2 separate regions of the Homo sapiens genome follow, and region 1 is linked to region 2. Evidence: promoter capture Hi-C in 16 types of primary human blood cells and fetal thymus (Javierre and others, 2016). All regions are on one chromosome and are shown on one strand. The core of a region is centred on a gene start or on the middle of the fragment in contact, and the rest is flanking DNA. Distances in the headings are between cores, read along the strand shown. Region 1 overlaps CTNNA1 (catenin alpha 1). Region 2 holds the start of MATR3 (matrin 3).

The links. Contacts are between HindIII fragments. The CHiCAGO score rates a contact against its expected background, and 5 or more counts as called.
Region 1: a fragment that was not itself captured here is called in contact with the fragment with the promoter of MATR3 in region 2 in 1 of 17 cell types (M1 macrophages); the score reaches 5.8 in M1 macrophages.

The regions. Positions count from the first base shown.
Region 1 is chr5:138,784,792-138,791,792 of GRCh38, reverse strand. All of the region lies in intron 3 of CTNNA1 (catenin alpha 1), which reads right to left. Among named protein-coding and RNA genes, the nearest start is that of CTNNA1-AS1, 34 kb to the right of the region's middle. RefSeq lists an enhancer at 1,702-1,871. The HindIII fragment of the contact is 4,115 bases long and covers 3,048-7,001 here.
Region 2 is chr5:139,290,262-139,297,652 of GRCh38, reverse strand. MATR3 (matrin 3) reads right to left here and starts at 3,913. Exons shown (of 15, transcript NM_018834.6): 1 at 3,848-3,913. It overlaps LOC124901081 (a long non-coding RNA gene), which reads left to right and starts at 4,096. Exons shown (of 4, transcript XR_007058956.1): 1 at 4,096-4,379. RefSeq lists enhancers at 2,435-3,137, 3,138-3,841. The HindIII fragment of the contact is 8,607 bases long and covers 1-7,391 here.

The sequences.
Region 1 (7,001 bases), core at 3,856-6,355, 510 kb after region 2:
AAAAAGCTGAGAAAACAAGTACCATTAGAGTATGCTCACAAATCAACTATAGGTACTAAGATTACCCAGATGCTTGCAAACTCACAGATGTTAACTATTGTGTTAGCAGACAATAAATACTCCTTTCTTGTTCTAAAACTAACAAGACCCTTTTTTTTTTTTTTTTTTTTTTTTTTTGAGACGGAGTCTTGCTCTGTCTCCAGACTGGAGCACAGCGGTGCAATCTCAGCTCACTGCAACCTCTGCCTTCCGGGCTCAAGCAATTCCCCTGCCTCAGCCTCCCAAGTAGCTGGGACTACAGGCACGTGCCACCACGCCTGGCTAATTTTTTGTATTTTAGTAGAGACGGGGTTTCACCATGTTGGCCAGGAGGGTCTTCATCTCCTGACCTCGTGATCTGCCCGCCTCGGCCTCCCAAAGTGCTGGGATTACAGACATGAGCCACCGCACCCGGCCGACATTTTTTACATAAAAGATGATTTATGTAATGATTGAGATTTAGTACTTAACAACACTGACTGCTTTCAGTAAGTTGAGATCTTCTACTCAAGGAAAATGCATTCGCAGTATCAAAGTTTGCCTGAAATGGAATGACCTGAAAGCCAAAACCTAAAAAGAAACGTTTCAAAGAAATCTTAAGACAAATCTGTCTAAACATAAATAGATATGAAAGGGGAAAAAACTGTAAGCCAAACATTAAGATGTCTGCTTTTTATTTATGGACAGGAATATTTAGTAAAAGAACTTACTCTATCTTCACCTTCTGGCCATCTGGGGGACAAAGGATGTATAGTTGTCACTATAAAATGTTTTTTCAGCACTGAAGAAGAGGCTGCAGTGAATTACCCAGAGGTTTTCACAGTGTTTGCCATGAGAATAACAACACATACATGAGAGGTGACTGGCTGTGGTTAGTGGTACGATAGTCACAAAATGAAGGTCAAACCAAATGGCAGGCAGTAAGTCACTAGACTTAGCTACAATCAATCCTTGCTCTGTTCAGCAGCACTCAATCACCTTTTCCCAGACTACCATAATCTTGTCCTACCATTAAAACCAAAATTGCAGACACACACAATCATTTCTTGATTTTCTACTCCAAGGTAATTTAACCTCTGCTATGCCATTAGATTAGTAAAGAGAAATCTAAAAGATCAGCATCTCCAGCCCAATGAGCCATGTCTCAATTTTTGAAAACTTGGTGGAATTCCAATTAAAAAGAAAAATAACAGGGCTTCAACAAATCAACAGAGAAAGGAGCACTAATGTTTACCAATACTTATCATTGCCATAGGAACTCACACAAATAACATGTTTCAGATGTATTAATAAACATTAATACGTGTGATTAATGAACACAAAATAAGGTTTGACATCCATTACAAGCAAATAATGCAAACATTTTAAAAGGCAGCATTTTACACCTGTAAGAACACAGGTTCTTAGCAGCACATGCTGCCTCAACACCACCCTAAATGCCTCAAGTCACAGGAAAATAAATTACTACAACTTTTCACATACCAGGTCCCTTAGTTTTACCTACTGAAAAGATCAGCTACTTGCACAGGCCCTGCTGGCAGTTAACATGCATGACAACTGGCCAATTCTCTCTTTCCATCAATTCTGTTATAGCAGTCCCTTCCTGCACAGCTCCATTTCACTCCCCACTACTATGGTCATCTCCAGACTCTAGGTCCTACCTCTGGGCTGTCTACCAGTCACTTTAACCCTTCCTGCACACAGCTAACACTAATCTCCCTGCAAAAACTCCACTTTTCCTCATATTCTGTATTGCCCAGATGGTGGAACTTCTTAAAACAGGAAGAAAATTCAAGAGACAAATTTCAGTTTCTAAGGGGAAAAAAAAGCTTTTAAAATAAACACAAACCAATACTGGAAAGAGCTCCCCCTTGAGGTAGTGAGTGAGTCCTGTGTCACTTGATACATTCAAGCATATGGGACCTGAACCATGTAATGCCACATGGCATTCCAAGCCACCCTCTAAATATGCTCCAAACTATATTAAACCTCTCCTGCAGCCGGGTGCGGTGGCTCACGCCTGTAATCCTAACACTTTAGGAGGCCGAGGTGGGTGAATCACGAGGTCAGGAGTTTGAGACCAGCCTGGCCAATATGGTAAAACCCCACCTCTACTAAAAATACAAAAATTAGCCAGGTGTGGTGGCACATGCCTGTAGTCCCAGCTACTCAGGAGGCTGAGGCAGGAGAATTGCTTGAACCCAGGAGGCGAAGGTTGCAGCGAGCCAAGATACCACCACTGCATTCCGGCCTGGACGACAGAGCAAGACTCCAACTCAAAAAACAAAACAAAACAAAAACCTCTCCTGCCAGCAGTGCTCAACATGACTAGCACCCACCTCCAGCCAGGGACCTCACTGTTTCTCATGCCCATCTTGCACAGTCTATTTTTCTTACCTGGATGAGTTTCCTCCTGCTCCCTTTTTCTACCTTTCAAGATCCAGTGCAAGCTCAAATACCTTTAGTTAACTTTCCCAATCCCATGCTTATCCTCCCATTCCTCTGCCACTCATGCTATTAATTATTTTTCGTATTCATGTATCATTATAAGCTCTGGGGGGGGGGAAAAACAGGAAAAACAGCCTCCTATGTGCTAGAATACCATCTCCCCCTCAGGGACCACACACTATCAACCAGCCCATTCCTCACTCATATTTCCCTGACACAAGCTTCTTCCTAGGAAATCTACTGTTGCTCAGTGCACGAATAATCTATTTGGCCCCTTTACTGAGCAAATATGATTAGAAGCAGTGCAGGAATACAAAAAGGTGGATTTCAGTTTCTTTGGGTCTTCTCCCCCTTCACTGACCCAGAAATGCCCATGAGCTATAGGGAAGAAGCTACAGAAGTAGCAATAATACTGATCCTGGCCTTTGAGATCCAAGTATAAATTGTGGCTAATGGATTATAAAACACTGTTCTAGTAAGAAGCTGTTCCTCATCACTCCACTTCAAATTTAACATTAATGGGCCTCTGTTCATAATATCTCTCCTTTTTCAAAAAAGCTTCATTTAGGTCTTCTCATCTCTGTCCCCTGAAAGTCCCCTATCCGGCTTAAGAGGCTTCTTTTTCTGGTCAGAGCCCTATTCAAGGATTCATAAAATACATTTATGTACCACAAGGCAGCTGCTACTCTTTATCTACTGTTAAAATGTACATGTATGGGGAATGTCTGCTAATGAGTATGAGGTTTCTTTTGGGGGATGATAAAAATGTCCTGGAATTAGATCATGGTGATAGCTGTACAACTCTGAATACCCTAAAAAACACTGCATTGTATACTTTAAATGGGTGATTTTTATGGTATGTGAAATTATATCTCAATTTTTTAAAAAAAACATAAGATTCTCCACCCCTACCCATGCATTTACATTTGGCACTGGAAAGGAAAACACACTTTAAATTTCGAGAAAAAAGCATTTTCTCTTACTGTACTTCTCGGAGAATAATCAATTATCTTACTCAAACATTTAAGTGCCTATCACGGACCAGGTACTATCATAGATACAAACAGAATGGTCACCAGACCAGCACAGAACCTGCACTGCTGGAGCGTAGAGAGGAAAAGGCAACCAACTTAAATTACCACTGTGATAAGCGCTAAGACAAAAAAGAACAAAGGTAAGATTGATCTGATAAGGATGGGGGGATACGGGAGGTAAACAGGATCCTAAAATAAGAAAAGAGCACATCTAAGAGGCATATGTACACCTCTGCCTATATAAGGTAGCTACTCAAAAACGAAGCAGATTAGTAGTACAATTAAACTCTTAGATCACAGAGATTTGGAAGCCATGCAATTGGTGACTGGCTCCTATCCACCACATGTGGCTCACCTGACCATTTCATTAGCCTTGAAGTCAAATGATCCTGTTTTTATGTACGTGAATTTTTTTAACATCACTTACAGCATTATGGTGAAATTTTAGTATACTCACAAATGTGCATATTCATTATTTATGTAATCAGGGTCTAACACAAAAAGAAAGTTACACATCAAAAACTGTGTACATTCCAACTTTTGGTTATTATGATTGCACGGGAAGCAATGGACATGTACAAACCCAAAGATACAGAAGGTCTAATTTTTGGCTCAAAAGTATAATAAATAAACACATAAATAACTACCTTTTTGAAGACAGTAAGCTCATATCTTTAACAGCCTGGGAAAACCCTATATCAGGGTTAGCAAACTATAGCCTGTAATTTTTCTAAATGTTATTAGAACACAGCCATCCCCCATGACCATTTCTTTATATCTTGTCTATAGCTGCTTCCCAAATCAACAGCAGAGCTGAATATTAATAGTTTCAACAGAGACCTTTTTTTTTTTTGGAGACGGAGTCTCGCTCTGTCACCCAGGCTGGAGTGCAGTGGCACGGTCTCGGCTCACTGCCAGCTCCGCCTCCCAGGTTCACGCCATTCTCCTGCCTCAGCTGGGTATACAGGTGCCCACCAACACGCCCGGCTAATTTTTTGTATTTTTAGTAGAGACGGGGTTTCACCGTGTTAGCCAGGATAGTTTTCATCTCCTGACCTCGTGATCCGCCCAACTGGGCCTCCCAAAGTGCTGGGATTACAGGCGTGAGCCATCGCACCCAGCCCAGAGCCCTTATGATCAGAAAAGCCAAAAATACTTATTACCTGGCCTTCTAGAAGAAATTTACCAACCCCCATCCTAAACAACGTCAACAGTGATTCAGAACAAAGACATCTTAAAAATCCTTTAAAAATTAAGTGTTTCAGTGGATGGCATATTTTTATTTATCAGAAAAATTCAGAAAAGTTAGGTCAGGGTTTTACGTAAATGCTCAGGACCACTGAAGCCAGGGCAGGGAAAAGTGTTTGTATAAATTTTCTTTTGCTGCCTAAGAAATTCCAAGAGGTGGCAGCTTAAAACAATTATTAACTCCCAGAGTTTTCTATGGGTCAGGGATTTGGGGTTGGTCAGGACTGATGTTGTCTGAAACTTGACTGGAGGTGGAGGATCTGCTTCCTAGGTGGTTCACTCACATGCTTGACAAATGTGTGCTGACTGATGGTTGGAGACTTCAGTTCTTCTCCACAGGACCTCCTGAGTGCACTCAAGACATAGCAGCCAGCTTCCCCCAGACAGAATAATCCATGAGAAAAAGTGGAGTGGATACGGCCCCATTTTTATAACTTTGCTCCCAAAGTAAATAGCACCACTTCTACCACATTCTAGTCATTGTAGGAATCACTAAGTTCAACCCATGTTCAAGGGTTAGGCTCTATTTTTTTTTAAGGGAGGGGTGTCCAAAGAATCTGCAGACCTATTAACACCACTACAGGGTTTCAAACGATGAGTAAATGGCTTCAACGACATAGCCAACAAGTCTCAGTTGATTAAGCAATCTGTGCTTCATATTTTTGTAATATGTATTTTGTTCTATTTATGATAGAAAAGAGATCTTATCACCATTTGTTAAGATTCTCCAAAGAAAAAAGTAAGCCAAGAGAAAAAAGTAAGGCATTTCAGCTTTTCATATCTGATGCAATAATGATGATGGGAGGAAGTTATATTTTGGTTTTGGCTCTTTTTTTCCAAAGAGAAGGCAAATTATGGTGGACAGGTCATGATAATAAATAATTGCAAAAGTGGACTAGGACAGAAAAGTCCTTATGATTCAGAACCACATAAAAGATTATCATATACAAACAAAAATAACAAAAGCAATTCAGATATGCATTCAAAATTGTGGGGGGTTTGGGGAGCAGGGAATGTATATTATACCATGATTGCTACATATTTGCACTGGAGAAACTTCTGAAATAAGAAACATATAAAGTCAAATTAAAATTACCTACAACAATTAAATGCATTTTAAAAATAAATGTGGCCAGGCGCACTGGCTCATGCCTGTAATCCCAGCACTTCGGGAGGCCAAGGCGAGCAGATCACTTGAGGTCAGGAGTTCGAGACGAGCCTGCCAACAAGGCAATACTATACTATACTATACTACACTACACTACACTACACTATACTATACTAAAAATACAAAAATTAGCTGGGTGTGGTGGCATATGCCTGTAATCCCAGCTACTTGGGAAGCTGAGGCAGAAGAATCGCTTGAACCCAGGAGGTGGAGGTTGCGGTGAGCCAAGATCGCACCACTGCATCCCAGCCTGGGAGACAGAGCAAGACTCCAACTCAAAAAAAGAAAGAAAAGAAAAGAAACGTCAGTCACTAGAGCCAGCAAACACTGCCCAAACTCATCTGTTAATATGATTGTGAGTTTCGTTATAGAAGACAAGAAGGGCTGGGGAGGAGAATGTACCACAGAATACAATTAAGTAATAGCCTGATTTCCTCAACAGCAAGCTCAAAAACTGTCCTGAACTGGACCATTAAACTACTTTAAAATAAATTAGGCCGGGCGCGATGGCTCACGCCTGTAATCCCAGCACTTTGGGAGGCCGAGGCGGGCGGATCACGAGGTCAGGAGATCGAGACCATCCCGGCTAAAACAGTGAAACCCCGTCTCTACTAAAAATACAAAAAATTAGCCGGGCGTAGTGGCGGGCGCCTGTAGTCCCAGCTACTTGGGAGGCTGAGGCAGGAGAATGGCGTGAACCCGGGAGGCGGAGCTTGAAGTGAGCCGAGATCCCGCCACTGCACTCCAGCCTGGGCGACAGAGCGAGACTCCGTCTCAAAAAAAAAAAAAAATTAATTAATTAATTCAAAACTCACTGTACTGGGTTGAATAGCATTGCCCAAAAATTCATGTCCACCTGGAACCTGTGAATGCAACTTTATTTGGAAACAGGGTCTTTGCAGATGATATCAAGTTACGATGAGGTTATACTGGATTAAGGTGGGCCCTAATTCAATGGTTGATGTCCTTATAAGAAGAGGGAAACTTGGACACAGAGACACAAAAAAAGAAAAGTATATGATAACAAAGGCAGAGACTGGAGTAACATGTCTGCAAGCCAAGGA
Region 2 (7,391 bases), core at 2,664-5,163:
AAGTGCCACAGTAATAAATTATATTCAGGTTAGGTCAGATAACAGCACTTTATCATGTAACTTTTACTGTATTACAAATAGGATTATAATAGAAATGCGTTAAAACCTAACACTTATACTCAATTTTTTAAATTACACATAAAACCCCTTTAAAGGTACATATCTAAAACTCAACCCATAGGCTTGTTTTCTGTTTTACTTTTAATTATCCATTAAATTTTCTACACATAAACTTTTATCAAGAACTTCAGAGCCCTTAATCCTAATGATCCAATGAGAAAGGTTTGCTACATAGCTAATAATTATAAATTACAGCACTTTATTTCTTGGACAGCGTTGTGCCTTAGAATAACCAACCACATATACAGAAAATGGCAAAACTACACTCCCAGCCTATAACCCTTCCAATCCATCCCAACAAACTTAGCACTGTCCATCCCAAATGTTAAGTCAATCATCCACTTTACTTTTTTTTGAGATGGAGTCCCGCTCTGTTGCCCAGGCTGGAATGCAGTGGCGCCACCTCGGCTAACTGCTACCTCCGCCTCCTGGGTTCAAGTGATTTCTCCTCCCTCACCCTCCCAAGTAGCTGGGATTACATTACAGGTGCCTGCCACCACGCCCGGCTAATTTTTGTAATTTTTAGTAGAAATGGGGTTTCGCCATGTTGGGCAAGCTGGTCTCAGAACTCTTTACCTCAGATGATCCGCCCGCCTTGGCCTCCTAATGTGCTGGGATCACGGGCCACTGGCCGCAATCATCCACTTTTAGAACCTGTTGCCAGAAGTGTGGGATAGCTGTACTGTAATTCTAACTAAAGGAGATATATAAAATCAAGTATCCCTAACAAAAAGATGTTCTAAGAACATCTAACCATTATTCAATTCTTTGGCTGCAATTCATATTGTAAGCTAATTAGTACTATTTCCAATAATAATGATTTTAACATTTTTGCCTAAGAATATTCTGATTCCTGTGTTTGCTTATACCCAATATCCAAAATGTTACACAAGCACTACTTTCTGTCACTTCTCAGTACTTTTCACTTCAGACTTGAAGCAGCTAGTTTGTCTATGCCAATTTCGCTTAAAAATACAGAGGACTCTAATATTTTAAGCAGTTACAGTATTTACAAAATATGTTTTTCATTTTTTTCTCTCATTACAAAAGTTGATGTTATTTCTCGTGGTAAATTCAGAAAAACATCAGGGAGTAAACAATGCCAACATCTGAGCAAACATTTTGGGGTATATCTCTATTTTCATGTTTACATTGTCGTTTAAAAAACAATCAAACGACATTAGCAGTTTTCCAACATTTTCCTTTCCAGTTAAAACTGTATACCGTTACCATTTTCCCATCATACTCTTCACCTACGATACTGTTTTAAGTGGCTGTATAGATTTCCACTTTCACAACAGAATTAGCAGATTCCCAAAACTTGAATATTTAATTTTAAAAAAAATTCTTAATAACTGATATTAAATTTATATACGCAAATCTGACACATTACTTCCTTAGGATAAATTCCTGTACGCACAGTCTTTCCATTTTAAGCCTATTATACTATGAAGGAGTCTGAATCAACATCTAAGAGCTCCGAGAGTTCAACACCAGCCTGGGCCATATTGTGAGAACACGTCTCTACAGACGATCAAAAAATTAGCTTGGTGTGGTGGCGCGCGCCTGTGATCTCAGCTACCCAGGAGGCTGAGGTGGGAGGATTACTTAAGCCTGGGAGGTCGAGGCTGCTGTGAGCCGTGAGCCACTGATCATACCACTGCACTCCAGTCTGGGCAACAGAGCGATCCTGTTTCAGAGAAAAAAAAGATCCAAGACCTCTGTAGACCACACTGACAGCACTGCTACTATTTGCAACTGGTCACGACCTATCTGGGCTTTAACCTTCTCTTCTATAAAATTAGGGATTTGAACTACGTGATGCTCCTAAAATACGACACCACCGTTGCACTCCTCAGTAAAAACCATTAACTGACTTGTAATATTAGCGTTTACAAACTCTAAAAGCATTAGTAAAAAAATTAGTATGTTTAAAGACTAAAACAAATGCACAGATCAAGGGTAGTTAAATCCTTCCAAGTTAGTTCAAAATGTGATATAAAAGCTGTACACGGCTGAAAAATATATAAAGATGATAAAGCGAAACTTCTCTGGGTAAAGTACAAAGTAATGTTCTAAGTATATACTGTTAAGTGCAAAGGAAGAAATACAAATTTAAAGCACTTCAACACACATCTGGCTAAATGATCTTTTCCAAATCTTACATAACCAAGAAACTTCATGCAGTATTTTAATGTTGTTTAATTTCGAGTTTGCAAAAACATTCTATTTAAGTGGAAAAGGCATCATCCAGAGCGTTTTTGCAACGAAAATGTCAAGCCTTTCTTGATTTTTAAAACAATACTGTGAAAAACGTCGATAGACTGCGTAGATGACTGAGCCATTAGTAAAGAAATGTTTTTAAAGGGAAATTTTAAACATTTATTAAAATAGCCTGAAACATCATTTTTGTCCGCATAGTCAACTGTTTAGATTTCCCTGGGAGAAAAATGTATTTTACCGACTATTCAGAAATCTTAAGCCAAGGTTTAAAACACAGAACGCAGTACCAATACAAAATCTCGTGACCCCTACCTACGAAATCAACGATTCTTCACATTATTCCAGCGCGCCCGAAAGACTAGCCATTTCAGAACCACCATAACCGTTCTAGAAATATCTGGCTAAAAAACTGTAACTGATCCAATAGGAATATTCCACAGAACAGGGCCACAGAGCAGGATAAACACCTAGGGGATATTCATCCACGGTAAATGCCGAACACAGAACATGGCACAGAGCTCGAAATGCAAAGAACGATGCGGCGACTACACCACGGTACTCCAAAACCCTTTGTCTGGAAACCGGAAGGTCCCACACCACACGATCCTCTCTGGAGGAACCTGGACTAATACTATTTTGATAAAGAGAAAAAGGATGTGAGGTGACTTGACTAAACAAGTGCAAATCACCCGCCTCGCACTGTACTGCAGGCGGCTTGTTCCACGACGCAGTACGAAAAACAAGCGTTAACGTTTCATTTTTCGGCCATTTTTACGCGATGGGGGGCGGGGAGGAATTGTTTCTGATGTCCAGCTAACGCCGCGCGCGCGCGCGCGTGTGGGCCGGGAGTCTTAGGGGGCGCTCTGAGGCGATGGGCAAGGAGCGGCGTGAAGGCCGAGACACCGGGAAAAGAAAGAAACGCTGCTCAAACAAGCAGGCTCTTCAGAGTCTGCGAAATCCTCCATTTTGGGGGAACATTTTCAGAGAAAAAAAGGCGAACGGGTTATTTGGCACTGGCGCTACCCAAGGACTTAGATATCTTAACCATCCTCCTCAAACGGCAAGCCCCCAGTGTACAGTCTGTCCCTCAGGCCTCGAGCGAGCTCCTCCCTCCCCCTCAGCGCCGCGGCCCGCGTGTAACGGGCTAGTCGTCCCGCCCCCGCCCACAACGAGCCCAGGACGCGCAGGAAGCTCGGCCGGTCAGCGCACCTCTTCACCCAAAATCTCCCGCCGCACCCTGGGCCCTTGGCCGGCCGCGTGTTTCCCTCCCGGACCGCTCACCTCCGCCGCCCTAGAAGGCTGGTTGCGCCGCCACTGCGCTCCTAACATGGCGGCCGCCGATCAGGCGGCTCACATACGCAACGCGGAGGGAGGCAGAGCGGGAGCGAGCAAGAAAGGCGCGCCGCCGGCTCCCCGCAGCCCCTGTCGCCGTCGTTGTCCCCTCCCGGCGGACACGGAGAACCCCCAGCCACCCGACCCCGACTCTTACCCGCTTCACGCCTACCTTAGGGAAAGGGAGAGGGAAAAGGAGAGGTACCTCTCTCCCAGCGAGCGGGACGCGGAGACTCCCACAATCCCCCGCAGCAACGGCGCTGGCGAGAAGCGGCGGCAGCGGCTGCAGCCCAAGAACAAACCCACTCTCGCGAGAGAGCTCGCCCCCACCCCCTCGATCTGGTTCGGCGCGCGCCAGGCCCCTCCCCCTACTCAGCGCGCGCACCTCGCTCGTGCACTCGCCTGCGGTCGTTGTTCTTTAATCCCGGAGATCCCTCTCCGTCATCCAGCTGAGGCGGGAAATGGAGGAACAGACGTGGCTTACGAGTTCGAGTCCCATTCCCGAAAAGGCTGTTTGTCAACCTCCTGAATAGCATAATACAAAGTTTAAATAGGGTATGCCTTAGAAGGGATTCGCGAGAGTCCCTGGCTTAGACTCGACTTTTATGCTCTCTGGTTGTTCTGTTTGCCAAGGAATGGTGGAAAGCGCCAGATATTGGGGCCACAAAGGGAAAACGATACCATTTTGGCTGGTTTTTATTTAGGTATGTTTATTTATTTATCATAAATAAACTGTGTTGCTCAGGTTGGAGTGCGCTGGCGTTATCATGGCTCATTGCAGCCTCGAACTCCTATCCTCAAGGGATCCTCCCACCTCAGCCTCCCCAGTAGCTGGGACTACAGGCTCGCACCACCATGGCCAGCTAACTTTTTTATTTTTATTTTTTCCGTAGAGATGGTGTCTCGTTATTTTGCCTAGGCTGGTCTGGAACTCCTTGGCTCAAGCAGTGCTCCCGCCTCCGCCTCTCAGCATTGGATTAAGGGCGTGAGCCTACACGCCCAGCCAGCTGTTTTTTTTGTTTTGTTTTTTGTTTTGAGACGGAGTCTCACTCTGTCACCCAGGCTGGAGTGCAGTGGCGCGATCTCGGCTCACTGCAAACTCCGCCTCCCGGGTTCACGCCATTCTCCTGCCTCAGCCTCCGGAGTAGCTGGGACTACAGGCGCCCGCCACGACGCCTGGCTAATTTCTTTTTGCATTTTTAATAGAGGCGGGGGTTTCACCGTGTTAGCCAGGATGCTCTCGATCTCCTGACCTTGTGATCCGCCCGCCTCGGCCTCCCAAAGTGGCCAGCTGGTTTTTAAAATCAGGAATTCTGTGCAGGAGGGTCGTTGAGGCGGAGGACCGCGAGCCTTTTCCTTCCTAAAGACCACCGCCGCCTTTTGGTGAATTTGACTGAATGCAATACACTCTTGGGACTGAGGTACTGGTTAGGTACCCGGGTTGGAGGGATTTGAGCTCCGGCCTTCAGAGGCTTAAGTAAATTGTTTGGAGACCTAATCTGGCTGCAACTCTCTCCCCAACCATCCTTGCAGAACTCCGCATCTGGAGAGTTGGGAATTTTCCAGCACAGTTAATGATTATAATATGGAGTGCTTTCTATAAGGTGGGCAATGCAATAAGCAGTTTACACATAACCCTACAATAACCTTGAGAGGCGGCTACTGTGGGATACCATTTGGTAGATCACAAAACTGAGACATTAAAAGGTTATGTGATTTGAGGCACGGTAGATCTCGCCTGTAATCCCACCACTTTTGGAGGCCTTGGCGGGTGGATCACTTGAGTTCAAGAGTTCCAGACCAGCCTGGGCATCGTGGCGAAACACCGTCTCTACTAAAATAATAATAATAACACAAAGTTAGCTGGGCGTGGTGGTGTACGCCTGTGGTCCCAGCTACTCACCTGGTACGGAGGACGGGGCTGAGGATCGTTTGAGCCGGAGGCGGAGGTTGCCGTGAGCCTAGTGCACCACTGCACACTCCAGCCTGGGCTACAGAGTCAGACATTGTCTCAAAAAAAAAAAAAAAAAAAAAAAAAAGGTTATGTAATTCAATAAAGTGAAAAAGCTGGTCAGTGGAGTCTTGATGCCTCAACGAAGCACTACCTGAAATGGCATAGCCATAAAAATGAAGTTACTTGGCCAGGCGCGGTGACTCATGCCTGTAATCCCAGCACTTTGGAAACCCGAGGCAGGTGGATCACTTGAGGTCGGGAGTTCGAGACTAGCCTGACCAACATGGAGAAACCCCGTCTCTACTCGAAATACAAAAATTAACCGGGCATGGTGGTGCATACCAGTAATCCCAGCTACTCGAGAGGCTGAGGCAGGAGAATCGCTTGAACCCGGGAGGCGGAGGTTGCGGTGAAGCCAAGGTCGCGCCATTGCACGCCAGCCTGGGCAACAAAAGCAAAACTCCGTTTCAAAAAAAAATGAAGTTACCATCTCAAGACAGGGTAAATTGTTTTATCTACAAAATAAGTAGTAAGCCACTGATTCACAATATTACTTTATCTCAATCTAATTTAGTCAGTGATACAAGAAATATTTCTTGAGTACCTACTGTGTCAATATATTAGGCCTCAGCCAAAGAGCAGGAAAGGAGACAAAGGCACTGCCCTCATGGAGCTTACACTTTATGCAGACATTAAACCAATAAATATGTATTTGAGACGAGTGAATAATCTGAGGGAATGAGGAGCTTTCCTGAGAAACTGAGGTTTGAGCTAATATCTGACGAGTAGGCAATTAACTAGGTGAAGGGAATAAAGCATCCCCAGGCAGAGGGATCAGAATGTGTGAAAACTCTGAGGTAGACTTTGGGAAACTGCAGAATTTTTGGTGTGTTGTTTATTTTTGGAGACAGGGTCTTGCTCTGTTGCTCAGGCTGGAGTGCAGTGGTGTGACCATGGCTCACTGCAACCTCTGCGTCCCGGGTTTAAGCAATCCTTCCGCCTCAGCCTCCTGTGCATAGACATTAAAAAGGGCTGGAGATGTAGGAAAGGGCCATTTCCCTGGGGTTACAAATTCAAATGCAGAATCTAAGATAAACTGGGTAATACAAGTCCTATTTAATACTATCCAACGCAAGTTCAGTTGGGGACACATGAATTTTAAGGTAAGGAGTGGTATATATGGGTCTTGAGCCCAGGGAAAGATTGTGGGTTAGTGACAAATTTACAAGTTAATGCCGTAAACGAAGTAACAGGAGTTGAAAAATAAACTTAAAGCCAGACACAGTGGTTCACACCTGTAATCCCAGCACTTTGGAAGGCTAAAGTGGGCCGATCGCTTGAGGCCAGAAAGTTCAAGACCATCATAGGCAACATGGTGAAACCATGTCTCTACAAAAAATACAAAAATTACCCAGGCGTGGTGGCATACGCACCTGTAGTCCCAGCTACTCCGGGGCAGGGGTAGACAGGGTCAGGGGTGGCTGATGTGGAAGGATCGACTGAGCCTGGGAGGGGGTGGCACTGCACTCCAGCTAGGCAACAGAGCAGGACCCTGTTAAAAAAAAAAAAAAAAAAAAAAAAAAAAGAGCGGCCAGGCGCAGTGGCTCATGCCTGTAATCACAGAATTTTGGGAGGCAGATCGTTTGAGGTCAGGAGTTCGAGACCAGCCTGGCCAACATAGTGAAACCCCATCTCTACCAAAAATATAAAAAATTAGCTGGGTGTGGTGGCGCTCGCCTGTAATCCCAGCTACTTGGGAGGC